Regions from separate parts of the Homo sapiens genome. Here regions 1, 2, 4, 5 and 6 are each linked to region 3. The links are contacts of gene promoters, found by promoter capture Hi-C in blood cells and fetal thymus (Javierre and others, 2016). All regions are on one chromosome and are shown on one strand. The core of a region is centred on a gene start or on the middle of the fragment in contact, and the rest is flanking DNA. Distances in the headings are between cores, read along the strand shown. Region 1 has its middle 42 kb from the start of USP38. Region 2 has its middle 58 kb from the start of USP38. Region 3 holds the start of GAB1 (GRB2 associated binding protein 1). Region 4 has its middle 75 kb from the start of GAB1. Region 5 overlaps GAB1 (GRB2 associated binding protein 1). Region 6 overlaps GAB1 (GRB2 associated binding protein 1).

Region 1 (2,897 bases), core at 164-2,663, 110 kb before region 3:
TTCCTTTATCCTTTTGCACTCCAAACATGATTCCTTAAGAAAAAAAAAAAAAAGATCTACTTTGTTAAAACCTATATGTGATAATCTAAAGGGTTGAGAAATGTGGTTCTTAAACTCATTTGTTTTACCCGCGTAGTTTCTGTTTGCTTTACTAGGCTTATCTCTTCCATTCTTGCCTTTATGCCCTCTGTCATGCATATTGGACCTTGCATCATTTTTTTTCACACAGCACCATATACTTGCCATCTCGAGACCTTTGCACATTCAGGTCTCAGGATAGCATACCATTCCCCTTACGCTACTTTCTCTTCCCAGCTTTCAGCGGACTAATGACCTCCTACTCTTCAGTATGTTCATATCTTCTCATACTGACTTCCCAAGCTGATTAGTCTCCGCCTTTATCCTGAGGTGTGTATTGTGCTTCTCTTTGAGAAGGCCATGGCTTAGCAATGGGGCTAAATTAACACTGGAGTAAAGGCTAATCCTTTACAGTATAAAGTTTACACCCAACAAAGATTAAAAGTAGGTCTTAAAAGGATCAAATTCTAATGCTGGTTAAATTCTTTAAGTAATTTAACTGCATACAGAACAAATGGCAACCTTTTTAAGGAAATGCAGTATACATACCCAGCATTTAAGAAAGTAAAATTCACAGTATCCAGCATCTGATCAAAAAGTCTGAGGCATTCAAAGAAGGAGAAAAATCCAGAAATTATGGAAAGAAAGGAATTTGCAAAGTAGGAGCTTAAGAGGAATGTAGAAAATCATGAGCACAGTGAAGAGAAAAATGGAAGATCTGAGAGTCAGTTATCCAAGAGAAAATTAAAAGCACCCAGAGGAAAAGAATATGAGGTCAGCAAACAATACAGAGCCCACAGACCAAGTCTATCCTGCGTCCTGCTTTTTCGTAAGTAAAGTTTTATTGGAGCACTGCTATACCTGTAACCTATTGTGTATGGCTGTTTTTACACTACAATGGTAGAGCTGAGTAGTTATGACGGAGACCATATATATTAGTCTGTTTTCATGCTGCTATAAAGAACTGCCTGAGACTGGGTAATTTATAAAGAAGAGGATTAATTGACTCACAGTTCTGCATCGCTTGGGATGCCTCAGGAAACACAGTCATGGCAGAAGGGGAAGCAGGCTTGTATTACAAGGTGGCAGGCAAGAGAGAGCAGGGAAAACTGCCTTATAAAACCATCAGATCTTGTAAGAACTCACTATCCTGAGAACAGTATGAGGGAAATCATCCCCATGATCCAATCACCTCCCATCAGGTTCCTTCCTCAACACCTGGAAATTACAATCCAAGATGAGATTGATTATGGTGTAACCATATCACCATACAGCCTGCAGAGCCTAAAATATTTACTGTGGTACATTTAAAAATTCTGATCCTTGATATAGAGAAACAAAAGACCAGTCATTTTATCAGAATATGAAAGCTAGAGGATGGTGGAATGGCATCTAAAAAGTGCAGAAGGGAAAAAAAGTCAACCTAGTGAATACTCACTATATCCAGTGAAGATTCATTCAACATGAAGGGGAAATAGATATTTTTAGACAAAAGCTGAGAGAATTTTTTTCTTGAATATTTGCACTAAAAGATAGGTTAAAATTCTTCAGGCTGAAGAGAGCATACCAGGTGGAGATTTGGATCTACAAAAAGGAAGGAAGATTTGGAAATGGATTTGGCACCATTGACTCAATTTCCAGAACAAGAAAGCAGGGACAGTTTTGGGAAGCTCAAGACACACTGCCCATGAGCAGCAATTTGGACCTCCTGCTGCATCCACTGTGCATCAAACACACACTGTACAGACAAAGACTCCCAGGAAAAGAAGTATAAACATGGACTAACACAGAGATGGGCAAACTACAGCCTGTGACCCAGCCACCTGTTTATGTAGAATCCAAAGTAAGAATCTTTAACTTACACATAAACTTCTAGAATTGAGTTTAGCAAGTCTCCTAAATACAAAGTTAATATACAAAGTTCAAGGGTATATTTATACACCAGTGACAGGTATTAGAATATGAAATTTTAAAATATTGACAATAATGTAAAAAATCAATTTTTTAGAAATCTAGAAACAGCTTTTTAGAAATAAAAGATGCATAAGACTGCCACACAATACCATAAAACATTATTTAGGAAGTTAAAGAAGACCTAGATAAATTATGGCTTGGAAGACTCAATATTATAAATACCTAATTTGTCCTCAAAATAAATAGCCAACTTTTCCCAGTCTGTAGAATCAATGCAATCCCAATCTGGGAATTCTATTTTGTATTGAGCTGATTCGGAAATGTAAAGGGAAAAAGTCCAAAAATTGTCAAGACTCTTGGAAATGAGGAACAAGGTAGAATGACTTTCTTTACAAGATAAAACTTATAAAGCTAAAATAATTAAGATAAGGGGACTTATCAGAAATACGCCCATACTTACATGCATATGTGATTTATGACAAAAATAATGTGACCATCCTAGTTGTTTGAGACTGAGGCTGTTCCCAAGACATAGAAATTTCAGCTAAAACCAAGAAAGTCCCAGGCAAACTGCAATGACTTGGCCCCTAGACAAAGGTGACACTTCAGTGTGAAAAGGATGGTCTTTTCCATAAATTTTAGTGGTACAGTGGGTAATCATGTAAGATAAAAGAAAACCCTTACCGCACACTATATATAAAAAATGTATTTCAAGTGGATTTTAACTGTAAACTGAAAGGCAAAATAACACATCAAAGAGATTACTTAGAACATCTTCAAAATCTAGGTGTATGGTTAAGATTTCTTAAACAGGACCAAAAAATCCTTAGTCATGAAGGAAAACAGTGATAAAATGGATTACATTAAGATGAAAAGCTTTTCATCAAAAACTCCATTAAGAATAA
Region 2 (2,837 bases), core at 263-2,762, 94 kb before region 3:
TGGAAAAGGAAGGTTATTTAAATAAATGAAAAGTTATAAATGTAACAAGTGCTATGAAGATTCATGTGTTGAATGGGTGTTTTAACAACATAACTCACCAAAGGCACTCTGGGAGGAGTAATTAGTATGAGCAAGAGAAAAGCTTTTTATCTGAGGCTTTTTCCTTTTAAGAGGCTGTAGATCAAAAAGGACCCCAGTACCAGGAGATAGGGTAAGGACCATAGAAGCAGAGGAACAGAAAAGCAAAGAAGGAAACAAAGGGACAATTTCTACAGCCTCATAAATGGGGACATACACTCAGATTGAAAAGCAACACAAGAGGAACAAAAGTAGATATTTTCTATCCTTTCATCCACCTCTAAATGCTGAATGTGTTAATAATTGGCTCTGAGGAATACTTAGCTCTTTCTGGTGATAAACTAAGTCATAAGGGAAATGGCTGTGCTTTAATCAGGAGTAGGCCAAGGCTGCTTTCTGGTGCAGCATGACTCAGCGGGTTTGGAGTGCAGGCACACAACCCCCCACATTAGGTAACCATGCCATGTGAGGTGCATTAGGTGATCACCCATGTGAGCTTGTGCTTGGCTCACAGTCACTAATGTCTGTAAAATGTATAATTACCCTGCTAACACTGTACATATAGCTCACTTGTGCCCAGAGAGAGAGTAAAGCCCTGTCAAAATTGTCTACCATTCCTCAAGTGTTTTTCCAGCTACCTGCCACTCACCTACCAACTCCCCTTGGACTTCAGTTAGAACCTGACATAAGTCTGTGCATATTTCAGCCATTATGGGCCACAAAGGAGGGTTACAAATGTCAAGATAGCTTTTGTTTGTTTTGCTTTGAATAGGTAATACATTCATAAGGTTTAAACATTTTTTAAAAAATTAAATGAAATGTCTTTCCCTTACACCCCCATGGGTAATATCTTTATTTCATTTCTTCGTTATACTTCCAGAGTAATTTTGTGCACATATTAAAACCCATTTATGCCTAGTGTTCCATTATTGGAACATTAAGCATGTGGGAGTTACTTACATCCTACTACTGAAGGTCATTGCCAAGGTCTGATTCCAAAAATTCAAAAAAATTGCAACCTCAGGAATAAATGGGTTAAGATATATATACACAGATACTCTTTTACCCTCCTTCTTTACACAAGCATTACCATAGCCTTGCACATTATTCTACTCATCTTTTCTTTTTCACTCAACAAAAACTTAGATGGTTTTCATATTAAAACAAAAAGAACTTTCTCCTTTTTTTTGTAGCTGGCTAGTTTTCTATTGTAAATGTATATTATTATTTATTTAACCAGACCACTATCATAAACGTTTAAGTAATTTATAATATTTTACGATTACAAACAATGATGCTACCTTGAATAAGCATAATTTTGCCTGTCTAAAGTGTATTCGCACTTAAATTCCTAGGAATGGAACTTCTGAGTCAAAGGGCATATATATTTGTAACAATAGCGATAAGTACTATTAAACTGCCCCCTATGAAAGCAAGAAAATGTACCTTCCCAAGTAATGTATGGTAGAGTCTGTTTCCTCCAGCCTTGCTAACACCATGTGGTATGTAACCTTTGAATTTTATTCAGTCCGACAGCTTGAAAAATAATATCTCAGTGTAGTTTCCACTTTCATTTCTCTTCTTGTGAGTGAGGATAAGCATCTGTTCATGTATTTGGGGCTCTATATTTCATGGGACTGTTTGTTCATATCCCTTGCCCATTTTTCTATTGGGTTGTTGTTCCTCTGGGTTAGAACTCTATATTAGGGGCAGAACCCTTTGCCTGTGATTTGGGTTGTGAATACTTTTCTCCATTTTTGTTTACCTTTCATGCATATTTTTATTTTATTCATGGTGTTTTTGCCATGCAGAAGTTGTTGTTGTTGTTTTGGCAAAATGTAACAATCTTTTTTTCTGGATTCTAGATTTTCTGGATTCCAGTCAAAGTTAGAAATGTCTAGGGAAGATAAAAGTTAACTGTATGCTGAAAACAGTAAGTTTTGGGGAAAATAAATATTTAAAAGACCAAGAAACACTGGTAGATTATGGAGTGTTCGAAAGCCCCGCTTTCAAGGTGTTGCCAGAATAAAAGGTTAGTGGAAAGGCCTCACTTGTTCTTGTGCTGGTTTTGGGCAGAGGTAGAAACTGCCAAAAAATTAAAGGCTAGTTTTTTTTTTAATTGATGGGTAATACACATATAGTAAATTGAATAAAGGGCACTCATCTTAAGTATCCAACTCAATAAATTTTCACATATGTATAGACCTGTGTAACTACCACACAGATAAACACAACATGAATCCCAAGTTCTTGATCACCTGACAAATGGAAGAAGAAGGGATATTTAGTTCTGTGAGTCAGAGAAATTTTTCTCCAGTGCAATGGAGTAGGGAGAGTAAAGGGAATGAAGAGTCATGGGCATCAAACCAGCACTGCTGGAGTAACCTGCAGGAGTCTGGGGAGCTCGAAGTTCCTCCCCAAATTCTCTCTCTTGTTAGAACTTATTTACAGGAAAAAGGTATTGAGAATCCAAAAAACAAGTCAGGGTGGCTGAGATGTCATCTCAGGCCTAAGTCTTTGTGGGCAAAATAAAGATAACTCTATAGGAGTGGAATGAGGTGTGGCTGCTGCATTAGAGACAATGGGCATTTGAAGATAAAATTTAGGAGAACTGACTTATAGTATTGGGCTGGCATTTAATCCTTTCTTCTTTACTCTTTTCATAATCTCCCCTCCTTATTTGGTTCAAACAAAATTTCTAGGGGGAATGAAAGTGGGGTAGAATAGGAACAAAAATAAGCCAACAAAAAGGTAAGGCA
Region 3 (2,876 bases), core at 222-2,721:
CCGGCTAATTTTTGTATTTTTAGTAGAGATTGGGTTTCTCCATGTTGGTCAGGCTGGTCTTGAACTCCCGACCTCAGTTGATCCGCCCGCCTCGGCCTCCCAAAGTGCTGGGATTACAGGCGTGAGCCACCGCGCCCGGCCAAGTGTCCCTCTTCTAGTCCAGCATCCGAACAGTAGATTTCAAACAAATACAAAGTTAAGTGGAATAGGCAACAAATGGAAGGGGTGTGAGACTTCAAAATGTCTCAGAGATAGGACCCAACCAAATCCTTGGCCTCGCCAAGCGCCCCCATCACTCTGGCAGAACAGCTCCAGAGACCAGCCCTGGCCAGCCCTGGGTCCCCATCTGTCCTCCCCTCCAAGCTGGTAGCTCCCGCGCCCTCTTGGTCTGTCCTTTAATCTCGCGCGGCGGGGACCGGCAGGATGGTGGTCTCCCCGCGGTTTTGCCTTTCAGGCTCTCAAGTAAAGAAAACCCTCGAAACTCCTGATCTCGAGCACAGCACAAGCTCCGAGCTGGCACCGGGCTGAGTCAAGATGGCAAGCCCCGGACTGAACATTCGAATGTCCCTCAGTCTTCCCCGCGCCCAAGCCCCGGTGCCTCTGCCCTAGCCGAGGCCTCTGCGGTCTTCCCGGGCGAGGAGCCGATTGGGGGCCGCCGGACGGCGGAGGACCCTGCTCCTGCTTCCCGAACTACAGATCCCAGGGTGCCTCTCGGACTCGCGCTCCCTCCCTCCCTTGCTCCCTCCCTTCGTCCGTCTCCTCCCCCGGCCCTTGTTGTTTTGGCTGGAAGCACTCCGGCGGAGTTTCAGAGAAAGTCTGGGCAGAAACCGGAGCCGGGCCTGAACGTGGGAAGGGGAGGAGGAGAGGGAGGAAGAAGGAGCCCGGCGGCCGGGAGAGGGAGGGAGGGATCGGGATCTGGGGCCGAGCCGCTCAGGACCTGCCGCGAGCCCCGGGGTGGGGGAGGCGGCGGGGGAGGAGCGCGAGGGGACGGGACAGCGGGATCCCTCCCAGGAGCCAAGCCGCCAAGCGCCTCGTTCCTCTGCTGCTCCCCGCCCTCTTCGGCGGCCGCGAGAGCGGACCCACCCTCCGGCTTGACCTGCGACCTCCCTGCGCCCGCCGCTCAGAAACGCCCCGCGCTTCGCTGCCAACCCTGCGGCTCCCTCTGTGACCCGGGACCAGCCCCGCGCCCGCTGCCCGTAGGCGGCTCGCGGCTTCCCCTTTCCTCGGCGTTCACCGAGCGCCGCGAAGTGACCCACCCTCCCCCGAGGAGAGGGAAGGAGGATCGCTCCGGGCGCATCGAAACCGAGGGCGGGTGGGCGGGCGAGCGGGCACCGCGCGGGGCATTGTGTGTGTGTGTGTGTGTGTGTGTGTGTGTGAGCAGCGCTGTGTCTGTTTCGGAAAGCGCTCTGGGGAGGTCTTGTCCCTAGGGGGCGGAGCGCAAAGGACAGAAGCTCCGGCACCGAGTCGGGGCAGAGTCCCGCTGAGTCCGAGCGCTGCTGAGGCAGCTGGCGAGACGGCACGTCTGGAGGCGAGGCGGGCGCACTGAAAGGAGGCCGGCGCGCCCGCGGCCCCGGCTCGCGTTCTGTTCAGGTTCGTGGGCCTGCAGAGGAGAGACTCGAACTCGTGGAACCCGCGCACCGTGGAGTCTGTCCGCCCAGTCCGTCCGGGGTGCGCGACCAGGAGAGCTAGGTTCTCGCCACTGCGCGCTCGGCAGGCGTCGGCTGTGTCGGGAGCGCGCCCGCCGCCCCTCAGCTGCCCGGCCCGGAGCCCGAGACGCGCGCACCATGAGCGGTGGTGAAGTGGTCTGCTCCGGATGGCTCCGCAAGTCCCCCCCGGAGAAAAAGTTGAAGCGTTATGTAAGTAGAGCTGCGGGCACCACTCCGCGGGCCTCGGCGTCCACACCCCTCCCCAGTCGGCTCGCCGGCGGCTGCAGCTGGCCGCGCGCGGGGCTGGTTCTTAAACGAATGCCGGTCTCTTTCCCCTTGGCCCCTACCCCTGGCGGGCTCGGGACAGGGTGCCTTGCACTCCCTCACGCCCAGGCATCCACTTGGCCGGACAACTTTCTTCCTCCAGGTTCCAGACAGCCTGCTTTGCGGGCCTGTTCGCCCCATAAAAGGACCTAGACGTCCAGCTAAACTCCTGCTGCATGCTTTTTTTCTTCCTTAGGAAGGATGGGGTGCGATGGAGAGAGGAGCCTTCTTCCTGCTTTATTCCTGCATCTGATTATTGGGCTGATGTGTGCTAAAGCTCCCGCACCGGGAAAACTGCCGAGGTTTTAGGGCTCACTAGCCCTTTCTTTGGTGGGCGCTCCCTCTCCTCCGCCCCTCGAGATGGGTTGCGGGAAGCGGGCTGTGGAGCTGAGGAGTTGGTAGTAGAGACAAGCATATCGAACGCGCGCAAAAGGGAAAGAAAGAAAAGTTATTACGCGCCCTGCCGTTTGCTTAGCAGGGTTCACATTTTCGCGGTTTTGAATTGAGGGACTTTGGAGTTTGGCCCGGGAGCCTTGGCGGTTTGCTGCGAGAGGAGGGCGCTGGGGGGGAGCCTAGTGGCTGGTGTTTGGGCGCCTTGGATGTGCTGTCAAACTCGGCAGGAGGGGACAGCTGAAGCCAGAAGGGATTTCAGTTGCGGTCCTTTCCCAGGGAACCAGAGTGGCTTTAATGGTGTTTGTGTAATTGATACAAGATGCTATGTGTTAAACCGTTTTAGCTGTTAGGAAAAATATTCCTTGAAAGTATCAACCTTGCTTTAGTGGAAACCTGTGTCCTCTTCAGAGGTCTGGGATCTTATTCTTCCTCCCCATTGGTTGTTTTGTTGCTGCTCCCTTGCAAAGGAAAGAAATGACACTTTTGTGCTGACATCTGGATCAAATATTTTTC
Region 4 (2,857 bases), core at 11-2,510, 75 kb before region 3:
CTCAAAAAAATTGGAATTGTCTTGAGCCAGAGATAAACACCATGGACATCCCTGACATCTAAGCTAAATGAAATATCATCAAAAGATATTTATTGACAATATAGTTTGATCTGTGTCCCCACCCAAATCTCATGTTCAATTGTAATCCCCAATGTTGGAGGTGGGGCCTGGTGAGGGGTGATCAGATCTTGAGGGCAGTTTCTCATGAATGGTTCAACACCATCCCTCTGGGTGCTGTTATTAAGTGAGCTCTTGTGAGATGTGGTTATTTAAAAGAGTGTAGCACCTCTCCCCATCTCTCTCTTTTTCTCCTGCTCCTGCCATGTAAGATGTGCCTGCTTCCCCTTCGCCTTCCACCAGTTTCCTGAGGTCTCCCCAGAAGCTAAGCAGATGCATCATGCTTCTAGTACAGTCTGCAGCCAATTAAACCTCTTTTCTTTATAAGTCACCCCTCCTCAGATATTTCTTTATAACAGTGCAAGAATGTACTAATACAATTTAACTTCCTAACTTGTATAAAGAATTGTACCAAATCCTGTGGAGGCACAATCTGTAAGCTTTGGTCCTTGCCCCAAAAGAGACTGCAATCTGTTTGAGGAGATTCTTGGTGTAACAACACCACAGGAGTAGATGAATGCTAATTGTAAGGTACAGACAATAAATGTTTTTCCCCTAGTAAGCTTTGTTGACAGTAACAGGACAGAAACTATGTCTGGTGGAGGAAAGGCCTGGAACTGTTTAGTCCACTCAACCAGCCCTCACGTATCCAGCCATGCCACAGCTCTTTCTTAGTCACCCAACACCCTAAGGTCATGGTCTCTTCTGATGCAGGCTATTTTGGTGGTGCGGGCCAACTATAAGGGCTTACATGTTGCCTCAAGAAATTCTGTTCCCGTCAAGTAGACTTCATCTTCCTCACCTTCTCTTGCCTTTTTAAAGACATTCATTTCAACTCTTTCACCCCCACCCCATGTTCTCATTTTCAGAGTGGCTAATAAAAACTTGATTATTAGGAGCAAAGATTTTTAAAACCTTTTTTATAGCCACCAAACAAGAACACAGTATAAGATAGAGGATTCTGCTACTGGTCTGCTGTGAGATAAGTAGCAAGTTACTTTCTATGCTGAAAAATTACTTAAGGAAAAAAGAATATGATTACTCTCTTTCCCACCTTTGCAACCAGGTTCCTGATAAAGATTAGTGAAATGGTCCCCAAAAAACTTGGTAATACTTTACAAAATATTTTATGATACTGTGCAGTCCTATTACAAAAATATAACAGAGTTTAAATGGATTTGTTATATATTCTCTCTCTCTTCTTTAGAGAGTTAATAGCCTTTCAGCTAGAAAATCCAATTACTGAAATCTATGTAATTTCTCTTGGTCATTGGAGAATTCAATAACACTATAAATCTAATTTTTTAAAAAATGTTCACACCATAAATGAATTATAATCAGCAGGACTAAGATCTAATTGGAAATGCTGCTACCATCTGAGATTACTTATGAGCCAAAAACAAATTGCTTAAACCAAACCAGACTCCCAAAAGCCTTGGAGAAGTATTTGTGTTGAAAATTTGGTTAATATTTTTATTCCCAACTTAAGCACCCAGATCTGGATCCATTATTATCACACAGAAGTTCTTGTTTATAAATCATTAAATGCTATTCAGGACTTTCCACAGGAAGCAGACCCTTAGTAACAGGAAGAATTTATAAGACTTTCTTTTTTTTGGAAAAAAGAACAGAAGTCAAGAAAAGGGGAATGCACTCTAGAGAAAGAATTTCCCATATACTAGACTACATTATTCCACAGGCAGCTGAAAACCTGCTTCTTTGTAAAGCTTTCCTTGATCCCATAAATTAGCGATTAACTTCTCTGTGTTGGAGACTACCACGGCTAAAATTTTTACCCTCTTTCTAGTATTTATTTGAATGACTTACATTATTGATAGTTATTTATCCATTAATCTTCCTCATCAAAGTTATAAGTTATTTGGGAAACAACAAGTTCTTTCACATTTTTTACTCCTTCCCACCCCCACCAGTGTCTCCTTTTGTGTGTCAGGTATTGTGGTAGGGGCTGGAGAGAAGATGGATATGGATAGGAAAATCAGCGCAGTTCCGGCTGGGCGTGGTGGCTCGTGCCTGTAATCCCAGCACTTTGGGAGGCCGTGGCGGGCTGATCATGAGGTCAGGAGGCCAAGACCATCTTGGTTAACACGGTGAAACCCCGTCTCTACTAAAAACACAAGAAACTAGCCAGGTGTGGTGGCACACACCTGTAGTCCCAGCTACTCGGGGGGCTGAGGCAGGAGAATGGCATGAACCCGAGAGGTGCAGGTTGCAGTGAGCCGAGATAGTGCCACTGCACTCCAGCCTGGGCGACAGAGCAAGACACCATCTCAAAAAAAAAAAAGAAAAGAAAAGAAAAAGAAAGAAAAGAACAATTAGCACAGTTCTTTGTGTGTTTTGCTTATAGTCTAGAATGGATAAGAGATACGAGGAAATAAGCAACAACAACATGCCCTTCATCCTTGATAGGAGAACATGTGTTCAGTGAGGGTTTGTGTCAGTGGCATGCCTGCACTGAGTGCCTCAAAGGCAGTATTCCACAGCTAACATGAAATGTGATATGTTTGTAGGGTAGCATTCTCTTTGAGGGTAAATATGAATTCCTGGGAAGCTGAAGAAGTTAAGATGTCAGTTACTAGTCTTTGATAAGAATCATGTGAGCTTCACATCCAGGCTGTACAGGCATTAAACTGAAAAGGGTCCCCAAAGGCATCTTGAGGGTTTGGGGTAGGGGGCAGGAAATTCTGGTTTCCTCCAACTCCCCAGATTTGCTGACTAACGC
Region 5 (3,004 bases), core at 394-2,893, 120 kb after region 3:
AGGAGAAACAATCAGTTTCAGCTTCAGAAGGATAATTGGAGATAACCTGTCAGGCAGTTGGAAGGTGGAACTAGAGAAAAAGTGAGAAACCATAACTCGGTAAGATTTAGCAGTCATGTGACCTTGATTATTTAACCACAAACTTAGATAAGATACTGGGGTAGCAAAGCTGAGAAATGCAAAGAGTGACCACTGGGAGATAACTATGGTGAAAAAAATCAGGAGGGAGCTGGAGAGCTAATGAAAACGGATCTTTCAGACAAGGAGGAGTGCATCTCACATACTAGGTCAAGAGCAGCAAACCAAAAGAAGTTCTAAGAGCATTTTGTAATTAAACCTGGTATCACTGGTGTGTCAGCTCTCTGTGGCATTCACGTAGATGTCCCCCCAAGCCACATCTGTAAATTCAGAGTAGTATCAACTATAGACATAAGTGTAGGAATGAGCACATTTCTTCCTTTCTCTACTTGGTTTCCTTAGTTTGTGACTGTGTGGCACAGAGTGCTGCAAGATCTCCAGCCGCAATGGAGAGTTCAAAACTGAACTCCAAGCAGCTCCAACATAGTATCCAGCTAAATTTCCTAAGATTCTCTATATCCCTAAAGGTCTGGAAAGGTAAGACAGTGTGGTATAGAACAGGAGTGCCACACCAGCAAGTGGCAGGCTAGAGGAAGTCTCAACTCTGCCTCCGGTTAAAGTGTAACCTGAACAAATCACTTAACCCCTTCTTTCTTTGGATGAATCTCATTCATAAAATGAAGAAACTAGATTTGTAAGGGCCTTTCACTCCAAAATAATCATATTATTTTAATACTAAGACTTACCTTCTGCCTCTTATTTTTTTTGAAGGGTAGCACACTATTTGGGGGAGTTTAAAAAGTTGTCATCGTAGCCGGGCGCGGTGGCTTACGCCTGTAATCCCAGCACTTTGGGAGGCCAAGGCGGGTGGATCACAAGGTCAGGAGATCGAGACCATCCTGGCTAACACGGTGAAACCCCACCTCTACTAAAAATACAAAAAATTAGCCAGGCGTGGTGGCGGGCACCTGTAGTCCCAGCTACTTGGGAGGCTGAGGCAGGAGAATGGCATGAGCCTGGGAGGCAGAGCTTGCGGTGAGCCAAGATTGTGCCATTGCACTCTAGCCTGGGCGACTGAGAGAGACTCCGTCTCAAAAAAAAAAAAAAAGTTGTCATCTTCCTTTGCTTTAGAAAAGGGTCCTGCGGGTATGGGCCCTGGATTAGGGAATTTTAGGGGTAGGGAGTGGATCTTGCCCAAAATTTTAGTATTTACCTTTTAAACTCAGGCTGCCTCATTTCTGAATAAACTCAATGTATTGTGTAACTTAGAAAATTGGTTAGGAAATTTTATTTTTTATAACTTCTACAGAATTATATTTTAAGAAACTTAGATTTCGATAGGTAAGGTGCTAGATATCAGCACTTAACCAGCAAATTCTGATTCTGCCACCTAATAGATGTAAACTCAACTTTGTAAATTCCAAGAAAAAAGAAAATTTAGTGCCACTAATAATGGAGTAGCTTAAATCACTGGTTCAAATGATATTGCAGCTCTGGCATCCAGGCTTCTAATGGGAAGGATGCCCTTTCATAGGCTTTTCAGCAGTGCTTTTATGTGGCAGACATTAAGTGAAAGGAAGATGATGGTAACTGAATTTATGCTTTCAGAAATATACTTAATTAAACTGAAGCTAGGCAATCAGTAGAACCAGAATCTAAACATGTAATTCTTGCAAGATGAAGCCATTGGGCAACCAGTGAGTATCCAGAGGAAAGAAATGCTGGTCTTGTTTTGGTTTTAGATTAGTAAATATAGTAGTGGCAACTTGCTTCTCTAGAAGAGTCTTGTTCAGGAGGTGCAGGAATAGATTAAGGTTTTAAAAACATCTCTACCAAATTAGAAAAGTAATATTACAAGGACGTAGGCCTTCGGGCTTTCATATGAGACACCAGATTTCAAAGAAAAGAAAGATGTAATTGAGATCTGACTAGGGTATTCTACAAATTTTTTATTTGATCCAGTTTTCTAAGACATGTTAGAAGAAAAACTAACATGGCACATATTTTCCCTCTGTTCCCCCAAATGAAGATAACAACTAACCAGGCTGGTTATCGCACTAAAATCCTGCCATCTTTTATACCTCCTTGCTGCTTACATTGTTGCATGTAAATTCCTCTTTTCCATTGTGCTGAGCATGAGCATGAATTTTATGTAACAAGACTGAAATATTCTCCACAACAAACTTTTGTTCATGCTTTTAGATGTAACATTTTTGCACAGGGCTCTGTTGCTTTTTTTTTTTTTTTTTTTTACAGAATCCATTTTCCAATTAATAAATAACATTATATTAAGAGAGTCTTCTTTTTACCAATTAGGTCAAAGTCCTAAAATTTTAAGACTCAAACCCCATGGTTTAGAGCGAACTGATTCACAAACCATAGGTGACTTTGCTACAAGAAGAAAGGGTATGTACTTTAGCACCGCATGCTGTATGGGGCATTGGGAATTTATTTTGTAATGTTTTTTGTTTTTTTTCTAAAAATAAAGAAGAACCTTAAATACTACTGCTGTTGTAAATAAAACTTTCCTGCACATTATTTCTAAAGTGAATGCTTCCCATAATACACAATGAGTCTACTTACTCTGCCATTAACAACAGCATGTTAAATATTTGATAATATGTGATATTCAGACTTGTCCTTTTGCATTATTCTTTTAACTTTGTAGACAACATTTTATCCTTTCAGTTTGTGAACTGTTTGTGATTTTCTGTTGTCTTCTGTCTTTATGTATATGTGTTCTGTTCTGAGACAGAATAAAGAATCATTTCCATGGATTAATTGTGCCATTATTTAAAAACTGACAGCTAAACTGCTATTAGCCTTTGGGTGTCAAAAAGTAAAACATTAACAGTTAAAGAAATACTTTCACTCAGCGGAATATTCTGTATGTTTCTATTTTAAGAATATAGACAAGCAAAATGGT
Region 6 (2,897 bases), core at 62-2,561, 71 kb after region 3:
ATACCAAATTGTCTCTGTAGTAAGATGTATTAAAGTCAAGTCCTATTTTCAGGGTTCTTAACGTGTTAACAGGGGTCCTGTGAAACCTTGAAACTATACAATATTACCTATATACCTTTTTTCTAAGAAAAGTTTTCATTGCTTTAATCAGATGCTCAAAGCCGTCTATGACCCAGAAAAGGTTTAAGAACCACCTATGTATATTAAATACTAAGGGGTTTTTGTCATTGCTTTTTTTTTTTGGCTTTTTGTTTATTTTATGTAGTGCTTATGCCTAGGCTTTGAGGTAGGCATTAATTTAGCAGTAATTTCAACAAGTAAATTATATGCACTATTACTGAGAATTCAAAATTCCTGAACTCTTTCCCTAGCTAGTATAGTATTTCTGAGTCAAATTTGATTTTTTTCCTCTTATGAAATTGTTTTATTTCCAACTAATTTGTTGTATCCAGGCAATGTACGTAAACTCTAATATCTTAAGTTTATGGAACAGTTGAAAGCTTAGATCTAGGCATTGTTCTGCATTATTTTCAGTGTATTCTTTTGTTTATATTACTAAGCTAAAGTTAGCTCGGATAGCACAAGGCTAGAAAATGGTGACAACAGTTTGAAAACAGGAAATTTTAGGCTTCTGTGTGTTTGGAACAGATGATCATAATGATAGAGCCAGTGGAGTGGAAACTTCCACCGAGCCTGTTTTTTCCTTATTTTGCTCTATGAGAAAAGATGGTGCTTCCTGGAAAACAACTCAAGTATTTTAAAGCAAATGGTTTTCCTTTGTCCCTGCTTCATGGTTAATTTGTTTTTCTTTATTTTATTTACCCTAGTAATAGTATTATGGAAATATTTTTAATAGGCAAAGTAATTCCTAAAGTGCTTATTTTAGATTTTTAAATATTTCAATGTATTACCATTTACTGCATGGTTTTTAGAGAAAATTAAAGCAATATATTATAATGACTTTAAGGAAAGAAAAATAAATTTATTCCTCTATTTTAAGTGTTCCCAACTTTTCTTGTTTGTTTGTTTAACCCCCTAAGTGCCAGTCTTTAAAATAAAGTCGTGACTCTTTATCTGTCTAGGCTGTTTCCTGGCTGAGACTCCTTCCACATGTATCCCGGAATTCTATATTTAAAAGAAAGGTTAAATATCCATTCACTAATTGCAGAGTAATAATAAAATAGCATTTCCATATACACATAAACTTTTTGTTTTGTGCACATCATTCCTAGGTTATTTTAAACATACAATTTTTTAAAATTATAAAAGCAATAAATGGAAACATTTTGAAAAAACAAAGTATGTAAAATATGAGACTCATCTGGCCCTTTCATCTGACCTATTCTTAGTTATCAGAGTTAACAACTTAGTATGTGTCCTTCCAGACCTGTTCTCTAAACATAGTGTGTGTTTGTATAAACACACAGTTTGTGCTGTGTTTGTACAAACACACAGTTATTTCACACAAATGGAAGTATATACCATGTGTACAATTCCGCACCTTGTTTTTTTTACTTAACAGTTATCTTGTGGGCATTGCTCATGTATATATATCCATGTCACTTTTTGAATGAATTGCCTAGCTTTATTGTGTAGATGTCCCATAATTTATTTGACCATTATCCTGCTGATAAAATTTAGATTACAACCTATCTTATCAAAAATAGCATTTTCATTTTGTGAAACGCACATCTTCAACCCCGACATTTTACAGATTTCTGAGAGTATATTGAAATTTTGAATTCTACTAAAGAAGTCACAATAATGGTCTTTCCTTAAATATCAGTTGTGAAATACCTTTTAAGAGATTTCAAAATAAAAAATTCCGCTCTACTTTTTTCCCCACACTTTCTCAGGAAAAGAGCGGGTTAGTAAAATTACAGTGGTGGAGCTTCCTGGTAGAAGGGAAGTTGGCTCAGGAATGTAGAAAGTATTGCTCTTCAGCTATCTGGACAAGGTATACTTTGTTAGGGCTTAACAACTACCAAGAGACCCCAAGATGCAGTCAGCAGAGTTCTTTTTCAAGTGCTTAAGGGAATGGGCTTGTTAATGGACTACTTGCGTGATGTTGCTGAGAGCTCAAAGGAACAGGAGCTGATGCCTTATCTCAGGGGAAGTTGAGGAAAGCTTTAAAGAACAGGTCTTGAGCTAGGTCTTGAAGGATGAGTAGGAGCTCATGGTGAGGGAAATAAGGTATTTCAGACTGAAAAAGAAACAAGGACCATGTGGGTGCTGTCTGAGGCCATCTGTGGAGGTGAGAGATTGGAGAGATGAGACAGGTAAGTATGGTTTTGAAGAACCTTGTATGCTATCTTACTGAAGGAGTTTGGACTTCAATAACAACTTTGAACTTTCCCCCCCCCCGCTCTGAAATCTTTTCATTTAGTCTCAGTGGCTGTCTGTGATGATTATTCTGATGGACAACATCTCACCAAGGCTTTGAGCACTTACAATGCATGAAGTGCTGTTGCAGATAGAAAAAAAAAAAGGAATTAGCTTTCAAGGAGCTTAATGTCCAGTTGGGAAAATAATTCATAAGTATTTGGAGAGTTTGGAAATGTAAAATAATAGACTGTTCCAATCTATTCTACAGCAATGCAAGAGATATTACAGAGCAGTAATTGATTGTCAGTGGTAGGAAGGTAGGGTGTGGGGAGGAAAGGGGAAGGTTGGGAAAAAAGAACCTTGAAGAATGAATTGGGTTTGAAAGATATTTGCTAGTGGTAAATATTGTGAACAAAAATAGGAAGATAGAGACAGCATTGGCATGAGCAGAAGATATTAATATAAGAAGATGAAGAATGAGACGTAAGCTTGAAAGGACCTGTGTTTGTTTTGTTTTGTTTTGTTTTTGAAATTTTACTTTAAAGAGCAATATAATCCTATTGATTGGATCT

The links. The method cuts DNA at HindIII sites, captures the fragments that hold promoters and counts their contacts. A CHiCAGO score of 5 or more calls a contact.
Region 1: a fragment that was not itself captured here is called in contact with the fragment with the promoter of GAB1 in region 3 in 3 of 17 cell types (neutrophils, monocytes and megakaryocytes); the score reaches 9.7 in neutrophils.
Region 2: a fragment that was not itself captured here is called in contact with the fragment with the promoter of GAB1 in region 3 in 1 of 17 cell types (neutrophils); the score reaches 7.9 in neutrophils.
Region 4: a contact is called between a fragment that was not itself captured here and the fragment with the promoter of GAB1 in region 3, in 1 of 17 cell types (neutrophils). The highest score is 5.8, in neutrophils.
Region 5: a fragment that was not itself captured here is called in contact with the fragment with the promoter of GAB1 in region 3 in 1 of 17 cell types (neutrophils); the score reaches 8.2 in neutrophils.
Region 6: a fragment that was not itself captured here is called in contact with the fragment with the promoter of GAB1 in region 3 in 3 of 17 cell types (neutrophils, naive B cells and total B cells); the score reaches 10.1 in neutrophils.

The regions. Positions count from the first base shown.
Region 1 is chr4:143,225,110-143,228,006 of GRCh38, forward strand. No RefSeq gene overlaps it. Among named protein-coding and RNA genes, the nearest start is that of USP38, 42 kb to the left of the region's middle. The HindIII fragment of the contact is 2,906 bases long and covers 1-2,866 here.
Region 2 is chr4:143,241,589-143,244,425 of GRCh38, forward strand. No RefSeq gene overlaps it. Among named protein-coding and RNA genes, the nearest start is that of USP38, 58 kb to the left of the region's middle. The HindIII fragment of the contact is 2,745 bases long and covers 141-2,837 here.
Region 3 is chr4:143,335,405-143,338,280 of GRCh38, forward strand. It overlaps GAB1 (GRB2 associated binding protein 1), which reads left to right and starts at 1,472. Exons shown (of 10, transcript NM_002039.4): 1 at 1,472-1,856. The coding sequence starts at 1,785. It also overlaps the pseudogene LOC124900789. RefSeq lists enhancers at 279-488, 1,398-2,211 and silencers at 681-848, 789-1,088, 1,189-1,248, 1,319-1,368. The HindIII fragment of the contact is 8,165 bases long and covers 1-2,876 here.
Region 4 is chr4:143,260,186-143,263,042 of GRCh38, forward strand. No RefSeq gene overlaps it. Among named protein-coding and RNA genes, the nearest start is that of GAB1, 75 kb to the right of the region's middle. The HindIII fragment of the contact is 1,164 bases long and covers 679-1,842 here.
Region 5 is chr4:143,455,286-143,458,289 of GRCh38, forward strand. The region is part of intron 6 of GAB1 (GRB2 associated binding protein 1); the gene reads left to right. Among named protein-coding and RNA genes, the nearest start is that of SMARCA5, 57 kb to the right of the region's middle. The HindIII fragment of the contact is 7,383 bases long and covers 1-3,004 here.
Region 6 is chr4:143,407,033-143,409,929 of GRCh38, forward strand. All of the region lies in intron 1 of GAB1 (GRB2 associated binding protein 1), which reads left to right. Among named protein-coding and RNA genes, the nearest start is that of MIR3139, 65 kb to the left of the region's middle. The HindIII fragment of the contact is 1,627 bases long and covers 499-2,125 here.